Linked DNA regions of Homo sapiens: all the other regions are linked to region 1. The links are contacts of gene promoters, found by promoter capture Hi-C in blood cells and fetal thymus (Javierre and others, 2016). All regions are on one chromosome and are shown on one strand. Each heading gives the region's core, a stretch centred on a gene start or on the middle of the fragment in contact. The rest is flanking DNA. Distances are from core to core; before and after follow the strand shown.

Region 1 (7,095 bases), core at 2,923-5,422:
AGATGAATGAAAAATAATAAGGCAATTTGTAATGGATAATTAAACCAAATATATCATTATTCTAATTTCAAAAACAGGCAATAAATTAAAGCAGATGAAATTTGTATTACTGATAATTAATTCTGTTTGTTACTACAGAAAATATGACACAATAAAAATTGTTTTCTTTTTAAAATGTAAAATGCACTATTTTTATTATTAGTACTCTAAATTAAACAAATATTTTCATCCATAATCTATCTTCTGAGATTTCTATAATCTTTAACAAATCACATCTTATGTGACTCTTATTCTGTACAGAACTGTCAGGCTTTAAATTATTTGAGGTGTAGCAATGCAATTTGCACAACTTATTTTCTAAACTGTTGGCTGATCTTCAAGGCCAGGTCAACAACCTCCGGAAATGTAAAAGACAGTATATTAATTTGCACCCAGGAACAACCCCTAATACAGCAGAGACCAAAGGTATGAAGCAATTTCATCATCATTAAAAGAATGTTACTACTTTTTTCTCTTTTTTTCTTCTAAAAGTGAGGCACTGGATACTAATTAATGAAATACTACAAAGATAAAAGGCTTGGTTATGTTACCAGAACTATTAACTGTCCAAATTATGTGGTTTCAAATATTAATCTTTTTTGATTAAAAAAATTCACAGTCAAGGAGCCAAACTGACTTGCAGGACTATGCCAAAACGTTCAAACCTTTCTCCCTGAGGCTGAGTACCTTCAGTTCTTCCAAACTGTCTGTCTCCAAAGTAGTGACAAAATTCAAAGAGAGATCATATGCTCTTGATGGTTTATTGCTGACCTCTAAGAACACTACAAGTGAGTTCAGTATTTATGGGAGGTGCAAGAGTGCAAATGAGAACTAATTCCCAAAAAGCAGAGTAAATTGCTCCAGTATGGTCTACTGTTTACCAAGACGTAGTCATCAATTAATGCTGATTAGACACAAATGTAGATGTAGGAGCAGAACATCTTAACATATCCTCTAGCACTAACTTCTATTTTTCCTTCTCCTTCTCTTCTAATATAACAATCCCACTACTGTAGACAATTCACCTTGTAAACAGAAAACCAACAGACCAACCGAATAAAACAAACTTCCTACTAAAAGTAAGAAAATTAATGAGAAATTTTGCATAGACATCCATTCCTGTTAATGTGATTTCTGATCAATCTGTGGACCAGAAGAGCATAATCTGAGAATTTACTCTATTGGTTATACAACAGTACTGTGCATTTCCAGATACACTTCCTACTGCAGTCAATTCTATACTCAGAATAGCACATCTACTAAGACCCGAAGATGCAAAAGATGACATTTTGAGTACTTCATCAAAAATCCATACAGCAACTCAGATACAATTATTTTACTGTTTGAAAATATCGACTACTTTTCTTACTTCTCCCAAGTTCAAACCAATTGAAGGTTATGAAGTAACCACTTCCCCCCAGAAGCCAGAACTTTCACCTCTTCTGAACAGAGAAATACCTCTCATAAATTAGGTAAAAATAAGGTCTTGCTGATGGAATGATAGTCCAACATTCATGTAGCTGCCAATTCCCTATCTAGACCTCGTATCTACCACAATGAGCAATCCCTGAAAGTCAAGGTAGTAACTTACTTAATCAATTATCTGCAAGTCTAAAAGTGTAGTTAAAACAACCTGCATAAATATTAGTTTCTCAAACTACTTCAATTTGTTTCCAGGAACAGTAACAACAGAAATGTAAGGAATATAATCACTAAATCTAAAATTCTGCCTATTTCAGATTAATTGTGCTTTAATCAACTCAATCAACACAGATCTTGTTTAAGAGGTAGAGTAAAAAGGAAGTGCAAAGATCAAAGCAATGCTTACAAAGGGGAAGGACTATTTTTGTATGTATACCCCCAGTATTTACTATCTGGGTTTGAAAAACACGGGCATTTACTCAGCACAAGTGAGTGCCAATGCCTAACATAAGAATGAAATTTCAGCAAAAAGATAATAGATTTTCACATCACCACCAACCCCTAAAAGGATTATACTACCTTCTTTAAAAAGTCTCAAAGAGTTTAGAAGTGGTTTGCTTTTCACTGCAAGCAGCTTTTCGGTTCCAGTATTAAATGTACATATAACGTGTGTTCCTTTGTGTTCAAGTTTGTCCAGTAGGCTGCAGCCCAGGAAGACATTTTATCTAAACAAGCAGGGGAGGGCATTTAGGAATTGCAGGTGTATCAATATGGATGAATAATCTCAGATTCCAAGTCTCCATTAATCGTACATGTTCTTTCCATTTTAGCAATTCAATTAAATCATGAATGTAAAATTCTACAGGAAACAAATCTTTTTATTTCCTGTCTTCCCAAGTTTATAAACTCAAAAAAGTACATTGCTTCAAATTTAAATACATACATTTAAATACATAATTCCTATAGTGCCTCAAACAGTAAAAGGATTCATCTCTAGAAAGCACAATATTAAAATCAGAAAAACAACATACTTTAGTTTTAAGTTTCCCTTTTAAAGTTTTAACAAACACGAATGCAGTTTAAACTGCTTGACAATATTCAGTTGTGGGATTCTGCTAGAAAAAAATTATTGAATATCTTGACCCTAACCTTTACTATTTACTAAAAGATCACCAGTATGTAGAATATTTTGATGCCAGAGCTATTAAATGTTTTAGTAATACCATAAGCATTTTTTCAGATTATGAGCTTTATAAAAAAATCTTTGAGTTAAATATGGTTATTTCATAAACTGTAATGCTGAAAACCTCTACTTAACAAAGTCCATGAACATGTCAATCTTGATAATTAAATCCTGTATCATTAAGTCCCATTTGAGTTTCAGGATAAACCAGCAAGTCAGGGCAAACATTCCCTGGTGTCTGTTTTTAAGGACCATAGAAAAACTTGCATTTAGGATAGGCCTTGTTTTTACATTATTTTTGTTTCAGCGGTCATGCATAATGCATGGTGGCACTGTCCAAGAGTTTTACATAATCAAGTCTAAAAAGTGCTCTAAGTATCCAGGTAGGTAATTTATTTTCTCTCTCAAATGCCAGGCCCCGGAGGATCAGAATCAAGTCCTATAGCAGGTGACTATATCGTGTGTGTGTGTGTGTGTGTGTGTGTGTGTGTGTGTGCGCGCGCGCGCGCGCACGGAGGGGGGGAGGGGGGAGAGAGAGAGAGACAGAGAGCGAGCCAGGTTTCTTTTAGAAGTAGGAGAGGGATGAATAGACTCTCCTATTCAATTCTGGGGAGCTGGGGAGGGCTTTCCCAGCCAAGAGGACTGACAAGCACTTCTGCTTTCATTTCATGGAACGCCCTTAGGTGAAATCTGGTTCTGCACTGCACCAACCACCTTCCCTCTCTCCTCCGCGCCGCAGCGCACTCCAACCTTCTCACCATCCCCCAGGTGGGGCTGGGGTTGGGGATTTTAAAAGTTTGTAAGAGTTCCCCTCCGGTTCGCGTTCCCGCCCCGCGGAGGGACGTGAAGAGAAATGACCGCCGGGCGGCCGCGGCCCTTCGGCCGACTAGCCCCTGCGAGGTCCGGATGTGTCTTTCCCCGCTGTCGCTAATCCCATGTGCCTCTCAGCTACTGTCAACCTCCTCCCACGGTCTAGCCCAGCGGTTAGCGCAGGAATGAGGAAGTCCGAGTGGGGCTGGAGGGGGTGCGGAGGGCTGGGCGGCAGGACTTGGGCCACGCGTCCCCTGCCGGGCCCCCACTCGCCCGAGTTTGGCTTACCCGGGTGGCGAGTCCGCGTTCGGCCTCCTGGCGCGGGTGGGCTCTCCCTCCTAAGCGGCGCGGGCCTGCCGGCTGGAGAAGGAAGAGGCGGCGGCAGGCCGGAGCCCGGGCGGGCCCGAGTGCGGGTCGGGGCGAGCGGGAGCGCGGCGGGGCCGGGCCAGGCCAGTCAGCGCCGCGCCATGGCCGCAGCGCGGGCGGAGGGAAGCGCAGGGCGCGCGGTGGCCGGGCGGCGGCGCCGCCTTACTGGCCGGGCGGCTGCGGCCTCGGCGGCGCTGGGCTCCGGGAGCGGGGCCGGTGGCTGCGTGCAGGCCGAGGGCTGCGGCGGCTGGCGGCCCGACCGACGGGAAGGGCAGGGGAAGCTGTCAGCGCGTCGCCGGGCCGCTCCGGTGGCGAAACCTCCTCTTCCTGCCCCGGCTCGCTGGTGCACTTCTCTCTCTTTCTGTCTCGCTCACTCTCTCACTTCCTGGCTGGAAATTCCCACTGACGTCGAGAGAGCATACAGACAGACGGACACACGCGCGCACGCAGCGGGGGCGGGAGGTAGGGTCGCTGCCGGGGGTGGGGGAAGCCCGCACTTCTAGGGGCGCTGTGCGCCCCCGGCCCGGCCTTGCCGCTCGCCTCGGCTCCCGCCCCTCGGGGCCGCTTCGGGGCGCCGGGCGAGGGGCGCGCGTTAGGCGGCCTGGACGCCGCGGCCCCTGCGGGGCTCTGGCTTCCTAGCAGGGCGCTCCCGAATCCCAAGGGCTGGAGCCGGTAGGGAAGCCCCCAGGAAGCGCCTGCCGGGCCCAATCAATGGTCGGGGAACGCAGGCAGCACGGAGGCGGCGGCGGTGGCAGTGCCGCTGATAGAGTCATGCGGTCCATAGCCCCTAAGGGCAGGCCCGAGCAGCTGGAGGGTCGGCATGGATCCAAGCATGCCAGATATAAAAATAAAGCTCATCTGTATATTCCATTTAAGCGTGTCTCAGTTACATTCACATCTCTTCACAGATTAAACTACAATTTCGTTATCATAAACGACTTGTGCCCAGTAAAGTATAACCCTCTACTGGTTTTTGGTGCGGTCTTAAATCTCCTGGTTATAGAGCAGTTACTCAGAATGTTCATCTACAAGGCATTGTTAGGCCTTTATGATAATTACTGTGGATAGAATTATAGTGATGGTGGTAGCAATGGTTTTGGTTCACAGCTCATAAAATACTGATCTGGCAGAGGGGAGTTTTCTTTTTCTCTGAAGAGACCGCTACTGGCACCCACTGACAGGCCTCCCAGTGGCCACCATTCACTGGCATCTGAGCTGCTTTAGTGCTGGGCACTGTATTAGGTACAGGCTGGGGATACCTTCGGGTGGATTACCTCCCCACATAAGAAAGCTTGAGCCGAAATATATATTTTAGAGCTCATTGTTTCACTACTGGGTGGAGTGACAACTGAAAGCTTAGCTTTAAAACATCAGTAATCAGGTCCTCACCAGGCAATATTGCAGTGGCATTTAGATTGCTTATGGCATGTTCATCCTAGTCCTTTCGTGCCCACTCTCCATCCTCCTCCTCCAGTAGGTTATAAAAACCTTCTTGGTGGAGTGTTTTTCTGGAAAAAAAAAATAAACAAAAAAAACCCACACACACAAAAACCCAGCGATCCATTTGATTGCCTATGAGGTGAGTCTCCGAGGCGACCTTGGAGGCCCCAACAGTCGACCTTTAAGTGATCTCATTTAGCTCCGGGAGGCTGAGCAGCTGGAATTTAGAGGATCCATAAAGACTGAACACAATGACTTTTTAAGAAATTCTGTGAGCCGGGTGCGGTGGCTCACACCTGTAATCCCAGCACTTTGGGAGGCCAAGGCGGGTGGATCCCCTGAGGTCAGGAGTTTGAGACCAGCCTGACCAATATGGTGAAACCCCATCTCTACTAACAATACAAAAAAATTAGCCGGGCGTGGTGGCGGGCGCCTGTAATCCCAGCTACTCCAGAGGCTGAGGCAGGAGAATCGCTTGAACCCTGGAGGCAGAGGTTGCAGTGAGCCAAGATTGCGCCACTGCACTCCAGCCTGGGCGAGACAGAGCGATACTCTGAGAAAGAAAGAAAGAGAGAGGGAGGGAGAGAGGGAGGGAGGGAGGGAGGTGTGAGCATACACACTCTACTTTTCATTCTGCAAGGGGTGGCAGCCCCATTACCAAAAGATAGATAAATACAATTGTTATAAGAGTAGAGCCAGTGTGACATATTTGGGAGTAAAAAATGAAGAGCGTTAATTACTGAAAAGGATTAAATCAAACTCCAAACTCAAAATGATTCCATAAAATGAACTTAAAATTCAGGGTAGGGTGTTGAGCAGGCATATTTTCCTGGGGCTGCTGTAAAAATTTACCACCGACTGAACAGCTTACAACGGGAATTTATTCTGTCACAGTCCTGGAGCCTAAAATTCTGAACTCAAGGTGCCATTAAGGCCATGATCCCTCTGAAGGCTCTAGGGAAGAATCCTTTGCCTCCTCCTAGCTTCTGGTAGCTCCAGCAATCCTTGCCATTCTTGGCTTGGCTGCAACACTCCATTCTGTGCCTACATTGTCACATGGTCTCCTTCCCCGTGTTTCCTTTGTGTCGCTATATTCAACTCTCCCTCACCTTTCTTTTATGAAGACACCAGTCATTGGATTTAGAGCCCACCCCAATCCAGTATTACCTCATCTTAACTTGATAACATTTGCAAAGATCCTAGTTCCAAATAAACTCATGTTCACAGGTACCTGTGGTTAGGACTTGAACATATGTTTTGGGGGGATGTAATTCCATGCAGCACAGCAGGCAAAACTATAAAAGCTTTTTGGCTTGCTGATTAACCCTCCTCCATTCCTGCTTTGTTACCCAACATTTTCTCTACACTGTACAAACCTGCTTCCAGGAATATCTCTTACAAATTCATCCATCCTAAGGTGTCAGAAGGTATTTGCCATTATCAGGCTACGAAGAGGAAAAAAATGCCTCAATGTGGAATTTCAGACATCAATATTGTCTAAAAGACAAGTTATTTTGTGTTTGTCACTTGTCTTAGTTCATTTGTGTTGCTATGGCAGAATACACAAGACTAGGTAGCTTATAATGAAAAGAGGTTTATTAGGCTCACAGTCTTCAGACTGTACAAGAAGCATGGCACCAGCATATGCGTCTGGTGAGGGCCTCAGGCTGCTTCCACTCAATGGAAGGCAAAGGCGGGTGGTGTGTGCAGAGAGATCGTATGGCGAGAGAGAGGGGAGAGATGCCAAACTTTTTAGCAACCAGCTCTCATAGGAACTAATGCAGTGAGAACTCACTCATCCTCTCCTCCTTGCAGGGAATAGCATCAATCTATTT
Region 2 (7,095 bases), core at 173-2,672, 2.7 Mb after region 1:
GGAACACCTTTAGAGTGGATAGAAAAAGCAGAAGCAAACCACAAATTCGACCCTGAAGTTTGATGTTTTAGCACTTTTGCAATATTTCTGCTTGTTTACCCAGACCTTCTAATATATCCTCAATGCTCCGAATAGGGATGATTCAGAGACAATTATTGTTTCCTCCACAGAAAAAGAATTAGGAGAGGAGAAGGTAGGAAAAAGTTACAAGGGGCCATTCTGGTGCCCACCTAATGGGGCATATTAGAACTCCTGGAGTCTTTTTTTTTTTTTTTTTTTGAGACAGTCTCGCTCTGTCACTCAGTCTGGAGTGTAATGGCATGACCTGAGATCACTGCAACCTCCACCTCCCAGGGTTCAAGTGATTCTTCTGCCTCAGCCTCCCAAGTAGCTGGTATTACAGGCACCCGTCATCATGCTCTGCTAATTTTTGTGTTTTTATAGAGACAGGGTTTCACCCTCAGGTGATACACTCACCTCGGCCTCCCAAAGTGCTGGGCTTATAGGCATGAGCCACTGCACCTGGCCTGAACTCCTAGAGTCTTTGAGTGCCACTTCCTTCATGGGCTTACTCACACCTGCATGGCTTTGTGCCCAGATTCATATGTAGAGCAGGATTCTATCTGCCTGGAATGCTAAAGGTAAATTGCAGTGACTGAATCCTTGGGAAGTGGAACAAAGTGCAGTATCAAATGAGTCAAGGACATATGTTGCTTCCTGCCTTTTCTATGTACCTACAGGTCTCTCTCTCCCTCTCCCTTTCTCTCTCTCTCTTCCTATCTCTACTCCCTGACTCATTCAGCACTCACCACAGTGCTCTGTAACTTGTTCTCACAGTGTGGCCTGAGGACTAAACAGCACAGCAGAACTGTTCCTAAAGGACTAGATGATTGCAAAAGGCTGCTGTGCAATGGTTCTATCCTTCATCTTCCTCCCTATTACCACTGTTCACCCGGGATCGGTGAGACCCGGGTAACACTGGTTGCCAGTGGGAAGTTCCTGAGTGTCTGGAGGCAGTCTGCTGAAGACTAAGCTCTGATAATACATATATAACTGACTAAATGAGCACTTAAATTCTTTTGGCTACAGTTTGCTCACAGAGAAGGACAGGGCCCACTTGAACAGAGAGGCCAGTGCAGGCCAGGGAGATACTGAATATGCATACAGCAGTGACAGGGGAACAGCCTGGGCACTAGAGTTCCTGTTCCCTCTCTAGAGCCCTTTATTTGGTGTTTTAGTATCTATTTCATTCCCATTTTTAGCAAATTCTGGTTGTTCTTTTTCTTAACTTTTTTGGAAGTACAAGTAGCAGAATTTTCTAAGATCGTCCTGCTTTTCTGGCTGAATCTTCCTGCCTTTTGCCCTTCCTCATGTTGCTGTCCTGTCTGTTGCCCTCTCCTTTGATGTCATTGTCCCACTTTGTCATTTACTCAATTTTTCACAGTATCCCTACCACCCCGCCCACTCCACTAACTACACACTTAGTTTTGCAGTGGTAACAGCTGCAGGAGGCTTGCTAGATAGTTTCAACAAAATGCTGGAGCCCATCCCTCCCGGGACATCTATTGCTGTGTAACTGAAAGGGGATTTAGAATCTTGTTCTGGGCCGGGCGTGGTGGCTCATGCCTATAACCCCAGCACTTTGGGAGGCCGAGGCGGGTGGATCACCAGGTCAGGAGATCGAGACCATCCTGGCTAATACAGTGAAACCCTGTCTCTACTAAAAATTCAAAAAATTAGCCGGGCATGGTGGTGGACGCCTGTAATCCCAGCCACTCAGGAAGCTGAGACAGGAGAATGGCGTGAACCCGGAAGGCAGAGCTTGCAGTGAGCTGAGATCATGCCACTACATTCCAGCCTGGGCAGCAGAGTGAGACTTCGTCTCAAAAAAAACAAAAAACAAAAAACAAAAAACCTTGTTTTGGAACCAAGGCCAGCATCATGTCTGTTCTTATCCTTCAGTGCCTGTGGCATGCTAGTTGTATATTTAACAGGTATATTGAGGTACAATTTGTATATCATAATGTTCATTTTCCTTAGGTGTACAATAATTTTGAGTAAATTTGCAGAGTCGTGCAACCATCATTGCAATACAATTTTAGAATGGTTTTTATCACCCCAGAAGATCCTTTGTATCTGTAACAGTCTAAATACCACTTCTGTTTTTAGCTCTACCTGAAATTATATAGAATATTTGCTTACTTGTGGCAAATTCTCTTGATGGATAGATAGTAGATAGATGATAGATAAATAGATAGATAGATAGATAGATAGATAGATACATACATACATACATACATACATACACACATACATCTCCCAACCCACATGCTCTTCTGCAATGTGACCTTGCTGCTCCCTGTCAAGAGGCAGCACCTAACTCCCCTCCTTTGAATCTGGCCTGGCCTCTGTGATTCACTTGTGACCAATAAAATGTGGTGGAAGTGACACTGGATCACTTCTGAGGCTAGGTCAGAAGAAGCCTTGCAGTTTCTATTGTGGTCTCTTGGAAGGCTCACTCTCCAAATGTTACTTTCAGGGGTTCCCCTTAGGAACATAATTGTTATGCCTAGAAGCCCAAGCCACGTGGAATGCTTCATGTGTGTGCTCCAGTCAACAGTCCCAGATAATCCCAGCTTGAATCATTCTAGTCCAGGTGCCAGACTTGATTGAAGAAGCCCCCAGATGATTCCAGCCTCCAGCCATTCAAATCACTCTCTCCTAGTGGTTTGCATATTGCCAGCTGAGGCCCCAGACATCAAAGAGGAGAGACAAACCATGCCCTGTTTGAATTTTGGATCTAAAGAATACATGCACTTAATAAGATGTTTGCTATTTGATGCCATGAAGCTTGGGATGGTTTGTTAGGCAGTGATATGGTTTGGCTCCTTGTCCCCACCCAAATCTCATCTTGTAGCTCCCATAATTCCCACATGTTGTGGGAAGGACCCAGTGTGAAATAACTGAATCATGGGGTGGGTCTTTCCCCTGCTGTTCTCATGATAGTGAATAGGTCTCATGAGATCTGATGGTTTTAAAAATGGGAGTTTCCCTGAACAAGCGCTCTCTTTGCCTGCTGCCATCCACATAAGATGACTTGCTCCTCCATGCCTTCTGCCATGATTGTGAGGCCTCCCCAGCCATATGGAACTGTAATTCCAATAAACCTCTTTCTTTTGTAAATTGCCCAGTCTTGGGTATGTCTTTATCAGCAGCATGAAAATGGACTAATACAGCCAGCGATAGATAACTGAAACACTTGCCTATCATCTGGGTCAATGCCTAGAATGTGAGCTCCCAGAGGCAGGGACTTCCAGGGTCTTGATCACCTTATATCTTTGATGGTTACTTTTACGTGTCAACTCGGCCAGACCACGGGTTGCCCAGATAGTTGGTCAGATGTTATTCGGGGTGTTTCTATAAGAGTGTTTTTGAGTGAATTAACATTTAAATGGTAGGCTCTGAGTAAAGCAGATTGCTCTCTATAACGTGGGTGGACCTCATCCAACCAGTTGAAAATTTGAACAGAACCAAAAGACCAGCCTCCCCCGAGCAACATAATTTTCCAGTAGACTGCATTTGGTCTTCATTTGCAGCATCAACTCTTCCTGGTACTATAGTAGACAGCCTTTGGACTTGAACTAGTTCTCCAGCCTGTGAGCCCACCCTGCAGATCTTGGACTTACCAGCCTACATAATTATGTGAGGAAATTCCTTATTTTATACAACGCACACACACACACACACACACACACACACACACACACACACACCCTCTCTCTCTCTCACACACACACACTCTCACACTCCACATATATACATACTATTGGTTTTGTTTCTCTGGAGAACCTTCACTGATATAGTATCCATAGCCCCTAAAATGGTGGTTCTCAATTGGGTCCTCATTTTTGAGGTGGTTTTCATTGTTAGTTGTCACAACCTGGGGAGCCTACTGGCATTTAGTGTGCAGTGATGCTGAATATCCTAGTGTGCAGTACAGCCCCCACAATAAAGAATTACCTGGCTAAAAGTATCAAAAGGGCTACCTGGTCTACCTCAAGCACATTTTTTTCTCACTTTAAGAGCAACCTAAAAACCATAATACAGTAAATCCACTGAAGGTAACTATGCAAAGTCACCTACCTAACGAGAAAGCTAAAGTGAAATAAAAAGCCAGCCCTTCCCAGAAATCACTGGGGAGGATTTCAGGGAGAAAGGGCTAAGACCCTACCTTTTTTACAAGCAACCTGAGGTCAAGTGAGCACAAGTCAAGTAACATTAATGGGACATTGAGGTCACTCTTCATTTGTGTCTACCATATACCCTGTGCCCAAGCCCATTGCCGGCCTGACTTGGATAATCAGTTCTACATGGTTCAGGAAGCCAGGCTAATTGGTTCACTGGTGACATTTCCCAGTAGCTGGTGTTGAAACAATTAAAGCTTTGCCCTCAAAGAAGAAATACAGCCACTCTCAGTGGTTATAAAAGAACAGCTCCCCCTGTTGGTGCAGGCTATATTCATCTTTTCAAATGAAAAAATAACTAACATATTTGACTGGATCACAATTTAGAAACATTCAATAGGCTCCTGGAGGTCTAGAAAGAGAAAGACATGACCAATAACAGCAAACTTAACCAGGATCCATAAAAATACATTTCTTTAGATTATGAGTGTTCATAATCATTTTCATTTGTATATCATGAACATTATGTTATTGACACAGAGCAGGTATTGCTATTCTTGTTATTTTTTAATAGATAAGAAAATTGGAGCTCAGAAATGTTAAGAAAATTGTCAGAAATTAGCAGCACCAGGAAGAGAATTTATGTGCATCAGTCACTATCCAGTTAAGAAAAGAGAAGCCACTGTAGACATTTAGCTGCCACTGCTGGTCTGTGGGACCAGAAGGACACAACTCTGTTGATGCAGCTGAAAACTGGGACTGAGGCTTTTGGAGCATGCAGCTGCCCACCATTGCTGAAGGCTGCTCATGGTGCTGAAAGCACTGCCTAAGGAAGAAAAAAACAAAAACAAAAACAAAAAAACCCCAGATTTCTACCCTTCTCCAGTCTTCCTGTTAGCAAATTCTTTCTGGAAGACAGCTGGCAAGGGAATTAGTGAAATGTAGTTTGTGGGCTTCCAGTCCCCTATGATACCAGGCGAGGAGAGGAGGTCAGAAGTGGAGCTGAAGCCAATTGATGAATAACTAGCACATAACATTTTCACTCAAGGTTCTTTTCACTCTGCCTCATTCTCTCCTGTGTTCATCAGGGTATGCTAAATTGCTACTTCAGAAAGACCCAAAATTTAACACTTCAACACAGAAGTGAATTTCTTATTCATATGACTGTGAATAACGTGGGTCACTCTCCCCACCCCATCCCTAAGGGTCCCGGGTCACTCTCCCCACCCCATCCCTAGGGGTCCTGGGTCACTGTCACCTCATCCCATTTCTAGGGGTACTGAGTCACTCTCCCCACCCCATCCCTAGGGTCCTGGGTCACTCTCCCCACCCCATCCCTAGGGGTCCTGGGTTACTCTTCCCTTACCCCATTTCTAGGGGTCCTGGGTCACTCTCCCCACCTTCATCACTAGGGGTCCTGGGTCACTCTCCCCACCCCATCCCACAGACTGGGTAGCTTACACAAAACAGAAATTTATTTCTCACATTTCTGGAGTCTAGGAAGTCCAAGATCAAGGCACCAGCAGATGTGGGGTCTGATAATGCCTGATTCATGGTTCATAGATGCTGGCTGTCTTCTTGCTGTGTCTTCACATGGTGGGAGGGGCTGGGAAGTTCCCTGGGACCTCTTTTATAAGACATGAATCCCATTAATGAGAATTATGACCTTATGACTTAATCACCTCCCAAAGGCTCCACCTCCAAATACCATCACATTGGGGATTAGGCTTTTACATAGGAATTTTGTGGGACACAAATGTTCAGTTTTTGGTAGGGAGTGAGGAATGGTTTGCCTCTGCTGAGAGGTATATTCTGTCATTGACATTGGTTAGAATTGCTGGTTTCTGGTGATAATAAAGAGCAGAATGACTTCTCATTGGTTTTATCATTATCATTGTTTCTTTATTCCCTTTCTTTCTTTTTTTTTTTTTTTTTTTTTTTTTTAGAGAGTGTCTGGCTCTGTCACCCAGGCTGGAGTGCAGTGGCATGATCTCACCTCACTGCAATGTCTGCCTCCTCAGCTCAAGCCATCCTCCCACCTCAGCCTCCTGAATAGCTGGGACTACAAGCATGCACCACTACACCAGGCTTATTTTTGTATTTTTTGGTAGAGACACGATTTTGCCATTCTTTCCAGGCTGGTCTTGAATTCCTGGGTTGAAGCAATCCTCCCGCCTCAGGCTCCCAAAGTGTTAGGTTTATAGGCATGAGCCACAACGCACAGCCTGTTTCTTTATTGTTATTGACTATACCAGGGATTAAAGTGCTCCCAAGCACCCCCTCACCTTTGTATGTCACTGGTAAAAAAGATTCTTATATTAGAAGGAAAGTTATTCTAAGTCACTTTTAAGTTCCCTTTTAACTTTGAAATAATGTGACTTTTTAGAAACAAATACCCAGGGTTGCTGAAGCTATCCTGCACACATACATAATATATATTAGGCTTTCTTGCTGAAGCTGGGGATGATTTATATTTAACCAAACACCTCTTAGCACAGCAAATCAACATGCCTTCAGATAGAGCAGTGTTAATACATTATTCCAATAATGTTAAGAGAGCACATGTGTGGTTTAAGAAGAGTGCTGTGTTTTGCATGTCTCCTAATTTCCTAGAACTTCACTCTGGCTTTCTTAACAGGTAATGCAAACAGATTAAGTGATATTATGCTCCCTTCCGCAAAGGCTTTACTTCAGCACTTACTTTACCATTTTTAGATGCAGTGTCTTAAAAATATGCAAACATGTGCACTTGTGGGTGAGTGTGGCAGATGCTGTTTGTGCTGGTGAAGCAAGGCACCATCTGCATGGAAAGGTCATGCTTAATTGTGTCAGCACTGATTTCTGAGTAATGAAAGCCTGGACAAAAATGAAACTTCAAACACACCAGCATTTTTGCATTTAAGTCTGCAAA
Region 3 (7,095 bases), core at 1,628-4,127, 2.7 Mb after region 1:
TTGGGGTTGGTGGGAGAGAATAGGGTTATTCAAGATCTTTTTCCTTCCTTCTTTGCCACCTGCTCTGCAAATGGACTTTAAGCCTTGTTCATTTACATGTGAAGGGGTTTTAATATTTAATTTCCAGTCTCATAGGGTGAAGTGCACTGAACTAGGAGAGACATACCAGTTAGTCAGTGTAGGAGAAAATTCTGTTCAAATATCCAAGTCAAGTCACTATTTTTGGAGTGCTCACTTGATTCTACCACTTATATGAGTCCACTATGGAACTAGATTAAAGTTTGAAGAGGACATCACAAACATTTGATAAATGCAAATTCAATTGTCCCTAAACTAATTCTTTATTATTTATCAAAGAACGTACAGCTTTTGCATAGAATCTGATGGAATTAATAACCATAAAAGCATTTTATTAAATATGAATAATAATTATTGAATACTTATACTATGCTAAGAATCATTCCAAATGTCCTATGTGCCTAATTTCATTCAATCTTCACAATAAGTCATTAAAGTATGAGCTACTACCATCTAATCAGTTTCATAAGATGATGAAACTGAAGCTCAGAGAGATTATTTAACTTACCTGAGGAGACACACAGAGCCGGCAAATGGCAGAGGCTGGAGTTGAAACTTAGAATTTGTGTGTTTACTCATTATACCATAATTATTCTCAGCCTCAATCTAGTCACCATGGAAACTTCTAGGGCATGTGAAATACTGTGCTGTATTGTGGGCAAGAGTTGACATGTATAAATCAAAGTTTGAAGAAATTGATTCTTTAGGAGGCAGCTTGAGAAAGGAGATGTGAGTTTTTGCTTCCCCATTTCTAACCAGGCCTCAGTTTCTTCATTTATAAAGGAAAAATGCAATAGTCCCTGAGCTCCCTTTCAATTCTAACATCCTGTAAATCTAACTAAGCATACAGGCCCAAATAAGGGGAAAAAAACATCGAGAAGCTTCATTACCAAATGCTTGTACTGCTTCCTGTAAATGTACAATATTCATTTGAAATACTTTGTTCCTGCTGTCATTTGATCTTACCTCTCATTTTCCCTTTCTTTCAGTTTCTCTCTCAAGCTGTAAATTTTATTTTACTTTGTTATACTTAGACAGGCTGTTTGATATCCTTGCTGAAGACACATGACTAAGATGAGCCTGTATATTTAGGGGGATGTTTTCTTTTCAGCCTTTTTATGTTTTAAAGTTTCCTCTGGTATAATTTCTGAAATAGCAATTCATGTAAATAAAATGGGAATAACAATAAATACAAAGGCAGAAGTTAAAGTTGATTCACACTCTTTAGAACAATAGGTTTACTTCATGTACCAAACATGTTATTGTAGACTTTAAAGAAGAGATAAAGAAGAGACTGAGGGATAGGACTAAGACATGTGTTACAGCCCTGCCATATCCTACAATCATTCTACTACATTATTGTAGCAGAAATTCTTCCAAATTTATTAAAGGCCATGCTGTGCCATGGCAGCAATGTATTGCAGTGTCGCTGTAGGACCAATTTCAAGAGATAGCAAGGTGCCTGGAAAGCATCTATGCTTCAGGACCAGGTTAGCCCAGATTCCAATCTCAGCTCTGAGTTCTTCCAAATCCATTTAAGGCCACACTGTACCATGGCAACAATGTACTGTTATTGTGGGACCAGTTTCAAAAGATAGCAAGGTGCATGGAAAGCATCTATGCTTTAGAACCAGATTAGCCCAGATTCCAATCTCAGCCCTGATGTTTACCAGCAGTGAAAACTTGGGCAAGTGACTTAAAACCTCTGAGTTTTCCTTTCCTCATCTGAAAATAGGACCGTTGTATGCATTATTGTGGGTGGCTGAGATGAAATAAGTTGATGTAGGTGAATGCCTGGAACCTAGCAAACACTCTAAAAATGTTGGCTTAATTCCCTTCCTCAGCTGCTTTTTCCTTTTTCGAATAAAACTCATCTATAAACTGAGAACATTTTGTATTTTTGGCAAACATCCAAGGAAGTTTGGAAAAATTCTAAGTTGTCACTAGTTGTTTTCTGAAGAACCACCCAATTCTCAAATTAAAATTAATTTTAACCACATTATTTAAAAATATCACCTGGGTGGTGTCACAAAACAAAATAATAATAGCGGTAGCTGTCGTCAAAAGATTGGGAATCCCCATATCAAAACAAAAAGAGAAATGGAGATTTGACATTTACCAAAAAACCAGATGAGATCTTTAAAATTGGGAACCAATTATTATAAAGGGTAAGCACAAACATAGAACTTGACTTGTATTATATTTTTTCATGCCTGTTAGGTGATTACAGTCACAATACAATGTAATAAATTATACATGGCAATTTCATGTTAAGAATTATTGAAACATAAACAAAAGGTAATGGTAAAAGTAATTTTTTGTTCTAATCATATTTAGACATTTAAGCATAAAGATAAATGCCGTCTACATTTTCAAGACTATATATATGAAACTTAGCTAATTACAAGAGGCTACGACAAAATTAATAATGGACCAAACATATTTATACTAATAAAAAAGTTTCTCAAATTTTCAAGTCTATTTGAGTTTAGTTTAGAGTTCATGCACAGACATGAATATGTTTTATTTGATATCCTACTATTGAGACAGAAAAACTCCAACCGGCCTGCCCACTGAGGTGAAGCCTTAGGAAGTTCGTGTCCTTTGCAGTGGGGAGGAGCCTGGCCCCTCCTCTTCCTGTGAGGAACATAGAATTCAAACTGCTGGGCAGGAAGCGCTCTAGCTTCCCTGTTTCCCTCTTTTCTTTCTTTTCATCCAATAAAACCCTGCTTCACTCACCCTTCAAACCGTCTGCGAGCCTAAATTTTTGTGGCCGTGGGATGGAGAGGGACCCGATCTTTAGCTGAACTAAGGAAAAGTCCTGCAACACTATCACAAATGAAAGGCAAATTCTGAATTTAATCATCACTGAGCATACATGCAACACAAAATATCATTTCAAATTATGTTTTTATAAACTTTGAAAGTTAAAATTGTCACAAGTTTGCTAGTTTTGATGTTGCCATGCAAAAAACTGCAATGCAGGCATTGGAAATGGGGCATCCAGCATGACATATTGTGGAAATGATCAGTACTTATTTTTTCAGGTCCTGGGACATAGCAGGAAGCAAAGCTGACAAAAGTCCCTTTCTTCATGGAGTTCACACACTAGTGTGGAAAAAAAGGTATTTTTTTAAAAAACATAAGTGAATTATAGATGTCAGAAGGTAAAAGGGCCATTGAGAAAAATAAAGCAAGAGAGTACATTGTATATCTCTATCATGTACTTGGGAAATTATTAGGTTTTGAGAATTGGAAGTATCTTAAGAGTGTTTATGGGTATTGATAAAAAGAAATTAGAGTGAACAGAAACTTTAATGGAGATTAGAGAGATGAAATAGAGATTATGGCAAGGGAAAGGGAAATTATCATAAAATACTCTTAAAGTTGTCAAGAGGCTTAGATGTTGCTTAGGAAATCCTTGCTTTTCAGATTAGCAAACAGAAATCCTAAAAGTGTAAAGAGTAGGGAATAGAAAAAAAAGATATCTTAAAATAGCATTAATCCCCTTAGGTCAACACTTTTATCTATTTTGAGTGCAAAAATGTTCTTACGACCCAAAATCAAATATTCTGGGTTTCACTCTACTGAAGGCATTATATATAACTGCAAGGCAAAAGTGTAAAGTTTTGGCTATTTGGATATCATTTCTGTTGCCCTCAAAGGTAATACCACTTGTGCCAGTAGATAAATGTATTATAAGAAAGTCACTCTTTAATAAACTTACCCTCTAGACCCTGCAGGGTGAGGCTGGGCCTGGGTGGGGTCTGGCTGAGAGCAGTGGCCTGAAATATCCAATTCTAGTCCTTGTCATTCTGGTAATCTGAAGTTGAGAGCCCTGGGAGGGGCTTGTCCATTGTGTGGACAAATGCTTTTCCTGGTGATGTTAATCAAACATAAGCTATAAGAAATATCTGTACTTCTGGCGTGAACCCGGGAGGCGGAGCTTGCAGTGGGCCGAGATCGCGCCACTGCACTCCAGCCTGGGCGACAGAGCGAGACTCCGTCTCAAAAAAAAAAAAAAAAAGAAAGAAATATCTGTACTTCATCTGAAGGTGAACATGAAATCGTTAGCCTGAAGATCTTCTGATCACTGGGAGCCAATACTAGGAGCCCATGCTTAAATGAACAAGAAGAAAAGGCCTATTTTTAGAAGGTGGCATGTCAGTTTCCATTCACCATTCTTTATAGTCTGCAATGCTGACTCCGTAACCTTGAGGAATTTCTGGGCTTACAAGTCATCATGACTTGAGCACATTATCTTGTTTCCCAAGGCCTATTACTCCCAGAGGGGCAAGATTTGAACACTCATCTGTCATGGGTTTTGCCTGTTGTTCCTAGCCCTGATGGCTTTCCCTTCATCTGGCTGGGACAGATAAGAGGAATAAAGCTGGTGGACTCTAACTCAAGGGCTGGAAGCCAGCAAGTCAAGTGCATATCCATCAGCACGAGGGGCCGAAAGCAGGAATTCAAACAGCAGCAAATTCTTCATTGGATAATGAATAGAACAGAGGAGAGGCAGTGGAGAGGATAAAAATATTAGGTTCCTGAGTTATATTGTAATAAATAAAATGGCAATTGTAGTCAAGATAATAATACAGCAGGTTTGAGTTTTAGAGAAACTACTGTAGAAGTCTGGATGACAAATCCTTACAATCCCTAATGCATCAATCATAAGGCTTCTTTACTCAGAACAGTGTATTTACAAGGAAGCTTATCATTGTCCCAAATGCAATATCAAAACATCTTTATTTTGGCGCATCCTTAGGTGATCCTCTTGCCTGATGATTGGATCAGTGCCAGAAAGGTTCAACCAGAAAGCACTGCCTTCACTTTGATCTTAAATGTTTTGAAATCTGCCAGTAGGCAGAATATGTATCTTTTCCCTAACTTGGAGAAGGCCCAGGAAGGAGCACAGGGAATGATCAAAGAAGTTGAAAATAGAGTCTAGGAGAAGAATTTAAAAGAAGGGAGCTGTCTTTGGTTGGAAGAAAAAGAGAAAGTAGAAAAATGACAACTCTAGTGGCTTTGAAGACTACAAAGAGTTCTTACTCATAGTTATCCATGTATTCATTTATTTATTCACCCAAAATGCCCTGCAGTGGGCCAGGACCTGGCGGATATGAAATACAAAAATTAGAGGTACACAAAACAAAACCCTGGCTTTAAAAATCTCCTCTACATGGCCAGTGACCAATAACTGAACAAAATCAAGTGTGGAATTGGATGCAAGCAGGAAAGGAGACTGAAGTGTAGGGATTTGAGAAACTGAAATGCTTGCCAAGGCCAAGGTAGCAGTGGAAATAAATACACCTCCACTGGCCATTTGTTCATGGGAACAACTGCTTGTTAAATGGTGAAGTAATTTTCAGGGTTGATTGGGAGAATTTATACCAGGAGAAAGAAGGAAAAAAAGGTTATAACTTCATTTCGTAGTTTGGGTTATTCTTTCTTGGGCTTGGTGTGGTCAGTATAAAGCAGAGCAACTATTTTCTAGTTTCCGCTGTGCACTTCATGTATACTAGACACTGTGTGAGTCACATCAGGGACTACCCACACCACATAAATAGCAGAAAAGACAGAAGCCAATGATGCCATCTCTTCCCATCACACTGAAGTTAACAGAAAGCCCACTGGCAAGTTTGCCAAGAAAACACGTATGTACAAACTCATGGTAACTGGTTGTGTTATTAAGTCTTGAGTTCCTCTTGTGCCGCAGGTTCTTGGAATTTCCTAGTCTTTGATTAACTAAGATTTATCATTATTTAGGACAAAAGTGTTGTGATTCTATATCACAAATACAGGGATGATATTTTACTTCATTAAAATAATATAAATAAACAAGATGTTCAATCTTAGATAATTCAAGTGCCAAGATAGACTGTTTTTTGTGTTTTTTTTCTTTACACATGAATTTTTTTCTGGTTTAATTCTCTAACCATTCAAACAGGAAAATTCAAACTTTTCCAGCCATAGTTAAGTCTAGCTTAAAATCTTATTTAAAAAACCGTGACAATAGAAACAGAATTTTATAACTTAGGAGAGTGCTTCCTAGTTAATATTTTCAATATTCAGTGATCTCTGTGAACATTTAAGTGGGAATTTTAGTTTTTAAAATGCTCAAAATTTACTTCTGTGGGTCTCACTCATATGCAAACTGCCTATATCTGAAATTATGAGTAATCAAAAAGTCATTTTTACCTTTGTTCTTTTTGTGTGTATTGTATATGTTATTTTAAAATGGTGAGCCCATTTTAAAGAAATTGTGTGCTTTTAATCAATCCATTAAGTAACACATTCTGAGAAAATATCTACTTTATACAAAATACATTGTTTTCTCTTCAAGATAATGCTGAAATATAAATGACAACAATGACATTCTTAAATTGAAATCTGCCTTGTCTCTCCTCCATCCCGAAACATTATTTCATAAGTCAAGTGTCTGCTCATAGCTTACCTGTCTCGCTTCCAATCAAAGGCTGATTTGCAAAATGCTTGACAAAATCCTTCAAAGATGAGAATTCATTAAAGCCAAATTTAAATGAATATCCAGTATATTCAACATGAAAGTGTTTAACAGAATCTTTGGCCCTAAAAGGGAAAAAGAAGTATTTAATATTATTTAACAAATAAATATCTTGTTGAAGGGAAATATGATCTCAGATGTTAGCATCACTATTAACCCTTTATAAGAACTGAGAATTAGGCAATCATTGAAACCACTGACAGTTTTAAATAGCATCACTAGTTTCTTTTGGCAGAGTTTGCTCTTTTCAACTTTTATTAATTAATTAATTCATTTATTTATTTACTATTTTGAGACAGAGTCTTGCTCTGTCCCCCAGGCTGGAGTGCAGTGGCATGATCTAGGCTCACTGCAACCTCCGCCTCCTGGATTCAAGTGATTCTCTGGCCTCAGCCTCCTGAGTATCTGGGATTATAGGTGTCTGCCACGATGCCTGGCTAATTTTTGTATATTTAGTAAAGACTGGGTTTTGCCATGTTGGCCAGGCTTGT
Region 4 (7,095 bases), core at 1,695-4,194, 2.4 Mb after region 1:
TCACAGGACAGCGGGGACTGGAAGGTGGAAAGAACACAGGCAAAGCTGGCTTTGATCCTGGTTTCATCACTTTCTTGCAACATAAACCTCAGTTTCCTCAGTCAACTTTCTTTCCTCTGTGAAAATTAAAAGATAAAACTTTCCTTGCAGATAATTTGGTGAAAATTAAGAGATGATAAGCGTGAAGAGACTGGCTCACAGTGGACACTCAATAACTTGCAGCTACTATTAATATTACTTTTGTTAACCCTAAGCCAAGGCCACCACTCTTTAACCCATAACCATATGCCCCAGTGAAAAAGCACAGTGAGACCACCAGTGTTAGCAAATCTTCCCAACAACTCAAGAAACCATCAAAACTCATGAGCTGTAGGAGGGTAGGCAAATACTAACTTCTTTAAGTTTTTTCCTCATACACATCAGGATAATAACATCAAACTTCTAAGGATTCAAGAGAAATTATTTTAGATTTCAGTTCGGGTTAGAACCTGGCACATAAGAAGGCTCAATAAATGGTAAATGTTGTTATTACCATTCCTCTTTTTCAAATTTTAAAAGTGAGAATAGATTGACATTGTTCTTTTCAAGAGGCTGAATTTTCAGACATCTTCTCTACCAAATGATGTCACCCCCTGTCTCCCATGAGCACAGATGAAATTAAGACCCCACCTTTGAATGTTCCTTTTCAGATCTTCTTTTTCCTTTCCTTACTTTGTTTTCCTTTGAAAGTGGCCATTGATGTTTTTAAAAAGGGTTCTACTAGTTTATCCGTTGTATCTATTTTAAGGCACTGTTGGGTGGGGAGATGGTAACGTGAGCACAAATAAATTACATCATTATCATTTTCTCCTACGTTGACCATGGTTAAGGTTTTAGTCATGCGCAAGTGACTTAAAATTACATAATATGTATTTTGGCAATCCATCCTTGCTGTAGTTCAGCTCCCTGAATTTCAGAAGAAATGGGCCACTTAATAAGCCTCATCCAAGGGACTTCAGAGTCATTTCACCTTCATAAATCCTTGGAATTTCTACATGATAAAACTAGATTATGCAGAAGGTGTAATACATGAGGATGAGGCATATTTCCAGCAAATACGTAAGCACTGGGAGACTAATAATAGCCAAACACCTTACTCTACTAACAATTAGGAGGAATATAAGAAGAGGGTGCTTTGGTGTTTGAAGCGTCTAAGCCTTGGTTTCTTATTTTACACTTTCGTTTGGAGGGCAGATTGTTTTGAGTCAACATAAAGTGACTTCAGCTGAAGGGAGACTGGGATGTTCACAGTGGGCCTATAAACATTTTTAAAAACATCATTCAACGTTGATTCTGCCTTCACGGAGAGCCTACACTACACCAGGCACTGGGTTGGGCACTGTGACAGGGCTGATTCAAATAAACCCTTATGATATTTCCCTGTTGCTAAACTTCCAGAGTATTGACTGGCAATTTTTGGCCAACCTTCAAGCCTGATACATTCTTCTTTATTTGTCAATCTACCCTTTTGGTAATGTGGTAAAGAATCAAGTGTTTCTCTTCAGCAGCAATTCATCAGATAATTGCTCACTTTATTTAGTTGATGTGGACACAGCCAATCTATGTCATTCTGGTCAAAATAATACATTTGCCCTAACATTAGTGTTTTTTGTTTGTTTGTTTGTTTTTACTCTGAATTAAGCACATGAGGCCCTCAACAGAACCTGCATTAGACATAGCACCTGGTGGACAAAATATCCCTAATAAGCATTTGCTTGATTACATTCAGGCTTTAATTTTATTATCTAGAAAAGTGCTATTTCACCTTTATAGGTTTGGATTTGGTTATGTACTTTAAAAGCTTCAGGTAAAACAATGAGTAGATTCCTTTGTGAGAGCCCTCACAGTAAAACCAGAAGGCTGAAGGATACTGAGAGCATAGCCTGGATTGCGGATCCTAATTGACCAGTGCTGTGGTCTTACCTGGGTCATTTATCAGCTGTAAACAGTAGGCAAATTGTTTAATCTGAATGTCTCCTTCCTAATATTAGCATTTAGAACAATAATTCCAACTGGATGAGGTTATTTTTGAGATTTAATAATATAATAAATGTAAAGCCCATGGCATATATCAGACTTTTAATACATGTTTATTTCCTTTTTTCCCTCTCTCCTAGCAAAAATTTAACTTTGTCTTGAAGCTTGCCAAATAAGAAGGCCCCCAAAGTTGCTTGCTCTTGCAAGGATTACAGACTCTCATATTCACTCAAGTACTTAAGAAGTGTCAGGCACATTCCAAACTCCAAAGGAAATTAAATGCTGTTCCCCTGCCACCCACTCTGTCCCCCAGGGACCCCAAGCACATTAAAATAACATTAAGGCAATGATTTAAGCTGAAAATTGGGCTGCCAGGGAAAGCACCAGGCCCCAGTTCTCAGAAGCTTAGCTATACCTATGGGCACAACAGGGTGGCTCCCCTGGCTGGCTGACGTCAGAGCTTAAAGTTGTTTTTACCCCTGGCATTTGTGGGAAGGAAAGGGAGGGGTGAGGAGCGCGGGTGCCTCTTGTTCATTAAAAAAGCCTTCTGGGGACCCCTAGTGGCCACCAGCTATCATAGGTTTCTCTGCCAAAAGAAATCATGAGGCCTCAGGAAAACTACCTGGGGCTTCAATTGTATTTGTCTTCGTTCTCTCCTCAGTGATCCAAGTTTTTTCTCGGAAGTTAGTGGTTAAAAGGTAACCACTTTGTAACAGGCCTGTACAGCTCTCAAGTTTAGAAATTGGAGTTACGGGTGGCATAGACATCAAAATGATGGCATCAAATTGAAGGAGAGCTCTGAAATCCTCTTTTAATCCTCACCAGGAAAGCAGAAGGCAGAGCAAGCAGGCTGAAGACTGACAGAGAAGCATTTGCATGTCCTCCATGAGCCCTGATTTTCATGGGAACAGCTGTCTCAGTGACTGCATACAAGGTCCCACTTCTTAGATCTGTTCCCGGAGACGCAAGAGAAGAAGTAGAATAATAAGTCAAGGCTGTCCTGCTCATAAACAAATGTCAGACTCTTGTAGCTGGTGTGTTTCTGCTTCCTGAGTCTTTATTTCCCAAACCCCAGTGAACATAAGCAATAAAGCTATATCATGCTGGGGAATAAATAATAAATGATTCAGCCTCGACTCCAGGCATGTGTGGAGAATAGATATGGACCCAGCAAGGATTTATATACACAAAGCACCACGACACTCCTGGTGAGAAACTTTTCCTTTCGGGGAGAAACTGAGAAAACACAAGTTTGTTTCAAAGTGGAACAGGGGGTGATTTTGGAAACAACATAGTGTTAGTCATTCAGATTAATCTTCAATTCAGCCCTCCAAGCCTCAGTTCTTTCCTCGCAATGATGAGGCCCAAAGCTAACTCCTCTTTCGGCAATTAAAGAAGAGAGTGCAACACCACACTTAACATCCACTAACAGATGAGGTACCAGAAGCTTCAGCGTAGCCTAGAGACAGCACACTAGGCATAGCTATTAAGGACCCACCTTCAGAAATTTGCAATCTTGTGTTGTTAAATTAAATAAGCAGGAGACCATTGGCCTGGGACTGTCTCATATTTTGAGGTCCTACATAACAAACCACAACCTAATCTAGTACATAAACAAGCCAAAACCTAACTTAGGAGTATATTTTCTTCTTGCGAGTAGCCAAGTTTCAACCAATCACAAACAGCTGACCATCAAGCCAATCACAGGGAGCCAACTGATCAGATCATGCTCAAATAAGGCAGATGCCTCAACACGCCGTGGCCCAAAAAGGCAAATGCCTAGCCGAAGCCAATCAGATGATTTTTTTTCTATTTTTCTTCTGTGTTCATCCTATAAAAGCTTACTGCTTACACTGCTGGGTGGAGCTCTTAAAACCTCTTCCGGTTCTGAGTATTGCTCAATTCACGAGTTGTTCTTTGATCAAATAAAGTCTGTTAAACGAATTTGTCTAAAATTCTTCTATAACAATATCTCTGGCTTTCTTGCTGACTGTCCTGCCTTAGTGGTCACTGGAGGTAGAGCTATCACTTGCGGCATTAGCTGCGACAGGAAACATCACCCCAGGCAGCCAGAACAGAAAAGGAAAATGGCAGACAGCACAGGTTTTCAAGGACTAGCTTGTCATTCATGAGTCCTTTGAGCATGCTTTTTGTAGTGGATTCAATGGTTACACCCCAGAAAGATATGTCTATGTCCAATCCCCTGGAACCCATGAACATGATCTTATTTGGAAAAAGGGATTTTGCTGATGTCATTAAATTAAAGGTCTCGAGATGAGATCATTCTGGATTATCCAGGTAAGCCCTAAACTCAATGACAAGTATCCGTATAAAAGACACAGGGATCAGACTGACCAACATGGAGAAACCCCACCTCTACTAAAAATACAAAATTAGCCTGGCGTAGTGGCGCATGCCTGTAATCCCAGCTACTCGGGAGGCTGAGGCAGGAGAATCGCTTGAATCTGGGAGGTGGAGGTTGCGGTGAGCCAAGATCACGCCACTGCCCTCCAGCCTGGGCAACAAGAGAAAAAAAAAAAGAAAGGTACAGGGGTGAGATATAGAGAGACAGATATGAAAGTCATATAGAGACTGAGGCAAGTAATGGAATTACACAGCCACAAACCAAGGAATGCCTGGAACCACCAGAAGCTGGAAGAGGCAGGGAAGGATTTTTCTCTAATAGTCTGTGGAGGGGACATTGGCCTGCCAACACCTCAGCTTGACTTCTGGCCTCCAGAACCATAAGAGAATAAATTTCCATTTTTTTTCCATCACCCAGTTTATCATAAGTTTTAAGGCAGCCCTAGAAAATTAATACATTTTCAAAAAAATTGACTGAACACATTCTCCATGCCAAACACTATGCCAGACACCAGTGATACAGCAGTAAACCAAACAAAGGCCCCTGCACTCATGGAGCTTATTTTACAAAGAGAAAAGAGATTATACACTGGCAAATAGACAAACAAACAAAAATTTTTTTGAGAGTGAAAAGTCCTGCAAATAAACATGTCAAACATGGCCCTGTGGTAAAGATCATATACCTAGAAAACTGTACAAAATCCTCCAAAAGACACCTAAATTTGATAAATGAATTCAGCAAAGTCTCAGGTTACAAAATCAATGTACAGAAATCAGTTGCACTGCTATACCCCAGCAAAGACCAAGGTGAAAATAAAATTAAGAACTCAATCTCTTTTACAATAGCTGCAAAAAAAAACTAGGAATATACTTAACCAAGGAGGTGAAAGACCTCCTAATACAAGGAGAACTACAAAACACTGCTGAAGGAAATCATGAACGATACAAATAAATGGAAACACATGTTCACAGAATGGAAGAACCACTATCATGAAAATGACCATACTGCCCAAAGCAATATACAGATTCAATGCAGTTTCTATCAAAATATCAGCATCATCTCTCACAGAATTAAAAAAAAAATTCTAAAATTCATATACAACCAAAAAAGAGTCCTAATGTCCAAAGCAATTCTAAACAAAAAGAACAAATTTGAAGTCATCACATTACCTGACTTCAAGCTATACTACAAAGCTATAGTTACCAAACAGCATGTATTGGTATAAAAGTAGATACACAGAACAATGGAACAGAATAGTGAACCCAGAAAGAAAGACAAATACTTGCAACCAACCGATCTTTGACAAAGCATACAAAAACATAAATTGAAGAAAGGACACCCTATGTAATAAATGGTGCTGGGAAAACTGAATAGCCACATGTAGAAGAATGAATGAAACTGGATCCCTCTCTCTCACCGTATAAAAAATCAACTCAAGATAGATCAAAGACTTAAATCTAAGACCTGAAACCATAAAAATTCTAGAAGAAAACCTAGGAAAAACTTTCTTCTGGATACTGACATAGGCAAAGATCTTACGACTAAGACCCCAAAAGCAAATGCAACAACAACAAAAATAAAAGGGACCTAATTAAACTAAAAATCTTCTGCACAGCAAAACACATAATCATCAGAATAAACAGACAGCTCACAGAATGGGAGAAAATATTTGCAAACTTTGCATCAGACAAAGGATTAATATCCAGAATCTACAAGAAACTCAAACAAATCAGCAACAGTAAAACTAATAATCCCATCAAAAAGTAGGCAAATGACATGAATAGATATTTCTTAAAAGAAGACATATAGATGGCCAACAAACATGAAAAACTGTCCAATATCACGAATCATCAGGGAAACACAAATTAAAACCACAATGAAATACCACCTTACCCCTGCCAGAATGGCCACTATTAAAAAGTCAAAAAACAATAGATGCTGGTGTGAATGTGGTGATGTGGTGAAAAGGGAGCACGTTTACACTGCTGGTAGGAATGTAAATTAGTACAACCTCTATAGAAAACAGAATGGAGATTTCTTAAAGAACTAAAAGTAGATCTACCATTTAATCAAGAAATCCCACTACTGGGTATCTACTCAAAAGAAAAGAAATCATTATATCAAAAAAACCCTTTGCCAGGTGCAGTGGCTCACGCCTGTAATCCCAGCACTTTGGGAAGCCAAGATGGGCGGATCACGAGGTCAGGAGATCGAGACCATTCTGGCTAACACGGTGAAACCCCATCTCTACTAAAAATACAAAAATAAATTAGCCGGGCTTAGTGGCGGGCGCCTGTAGTCCCAGCTACTCGGGAGGCTGAGGCAGGAGAATGGCGTGAACCTGGGAGGCGGAGCTTGCAGTGAGCCGAGATCAGGTCACTGCACTCCAGCCTGGGCGACAGAGCGAGACTCTGTATCAAAAACAAAACAAAACAAAACAAACAAACAAACAAAAAACACTTGCAGGCATGTTTATTGCAGCACAATTCATGATTGCAAAGGTACAAAACCAACCTAAGTGCCCATCAACTTATGAGAGGATAAAGAATATGTGGTATAAATACACCATGGAATACTATTCAGCCATTAAAAAAGAACAAAACAATGTCTTTTGCAGCAACTTGGATGGAACTGGAAGCCACTATTCTAAGTGAAGTAACTCAGGAATAGAAAACCAAAAACTGTATGTTCTCACTTATAAGTGAGAGCTAAAC

Evidence for each region. Contacts are between HindIII fragments. The CHiCAGO score rates a contact against its expected background, and 5 or more counts as called.
Region 2: a fragment that was not itself captured here is called in contact with the fragment with the promoter of NFKB1 in region 1 in 1 of 17 cell types (naive B cells); the score reaches 5.2 in naive B cells.
Region 3: a contact is called between a fragment that was not itself captured here and the fragment with the promoter of NFKB1 in region 1, in 2 of 17 cell types (neutrophils and activated CD4 T cells). The highest score is 8.1, in neutrophils.
Region 4: a fragment that was not itself captured here is called in contact with the fragment with the promoter of NFKB1 in region 1 in 2 of 17 cell types (fetal thymus and total B cells); the score reaches 6.2 in fetal thymus.

The regions. Positions count from the first base shown.
Region 1 is chr4:102,498,436-102,505,530 of GRCh38, reverse strand. NFKB1 (nuclear factor kappa B subunit 1) reads right to left here and starts at 4,172. Exons shown (of 24, transcript NM_003998.4): 1 at 3,743-4,172. NFKB1-AS1 (NFKB1 antisense RNA 1) reads left to right here and starts at 3,045. Exons shown (of 5, transcript NR_136202.1): 1 at 3,045-3,092. RefSeq lists an enhancer at 3,493-3,542 and silencers at 3,653-4,222, 4,233-4,492. The HindIII fragment of the contact is 5,238 bases long and covers 1-5,113 here.
Region 2 is chr4:99,809,367-99,816,461 of GRCh38, reverse strand. No RefSeq gene overlaps it. Among named protein-coding and RNA genes, the nearest start is that of DAPP1, 3.9 kb to the left of the region's middle. The HindIII fragment of the contact is 2,861 bases long and covers 1-2,852 here.
Region 3 is chr4:99,839,863-99,846,957 of GRCh38, reverse strand. DAPP1 (dual adaptor of phosphotyrosine and 3-phosphoinositides 1) reads right to left here. Exons shown (of 9, transcript NM_014395.3): 3 at 6,536-6,669. Among named protein-coding and RNA genes, the nearest start is that of DAPP1, 27 kb to the right of the region's middle. The HindIII fragment of the contact is 3,832 bases long and covers 962-4,793 here.
Region 4 is chr4:100,089,060-100,096,154 of GRCh38, reverse strand. No RefSeq gene overlaps it. Among named protein-coding and RNA genes, the nearest start is that of DDIT4L-AS1, 97 kb to the left of the region's middle. The HindIII fragment of the contact is 1,043 bases long and covers 2,423-3,465 here.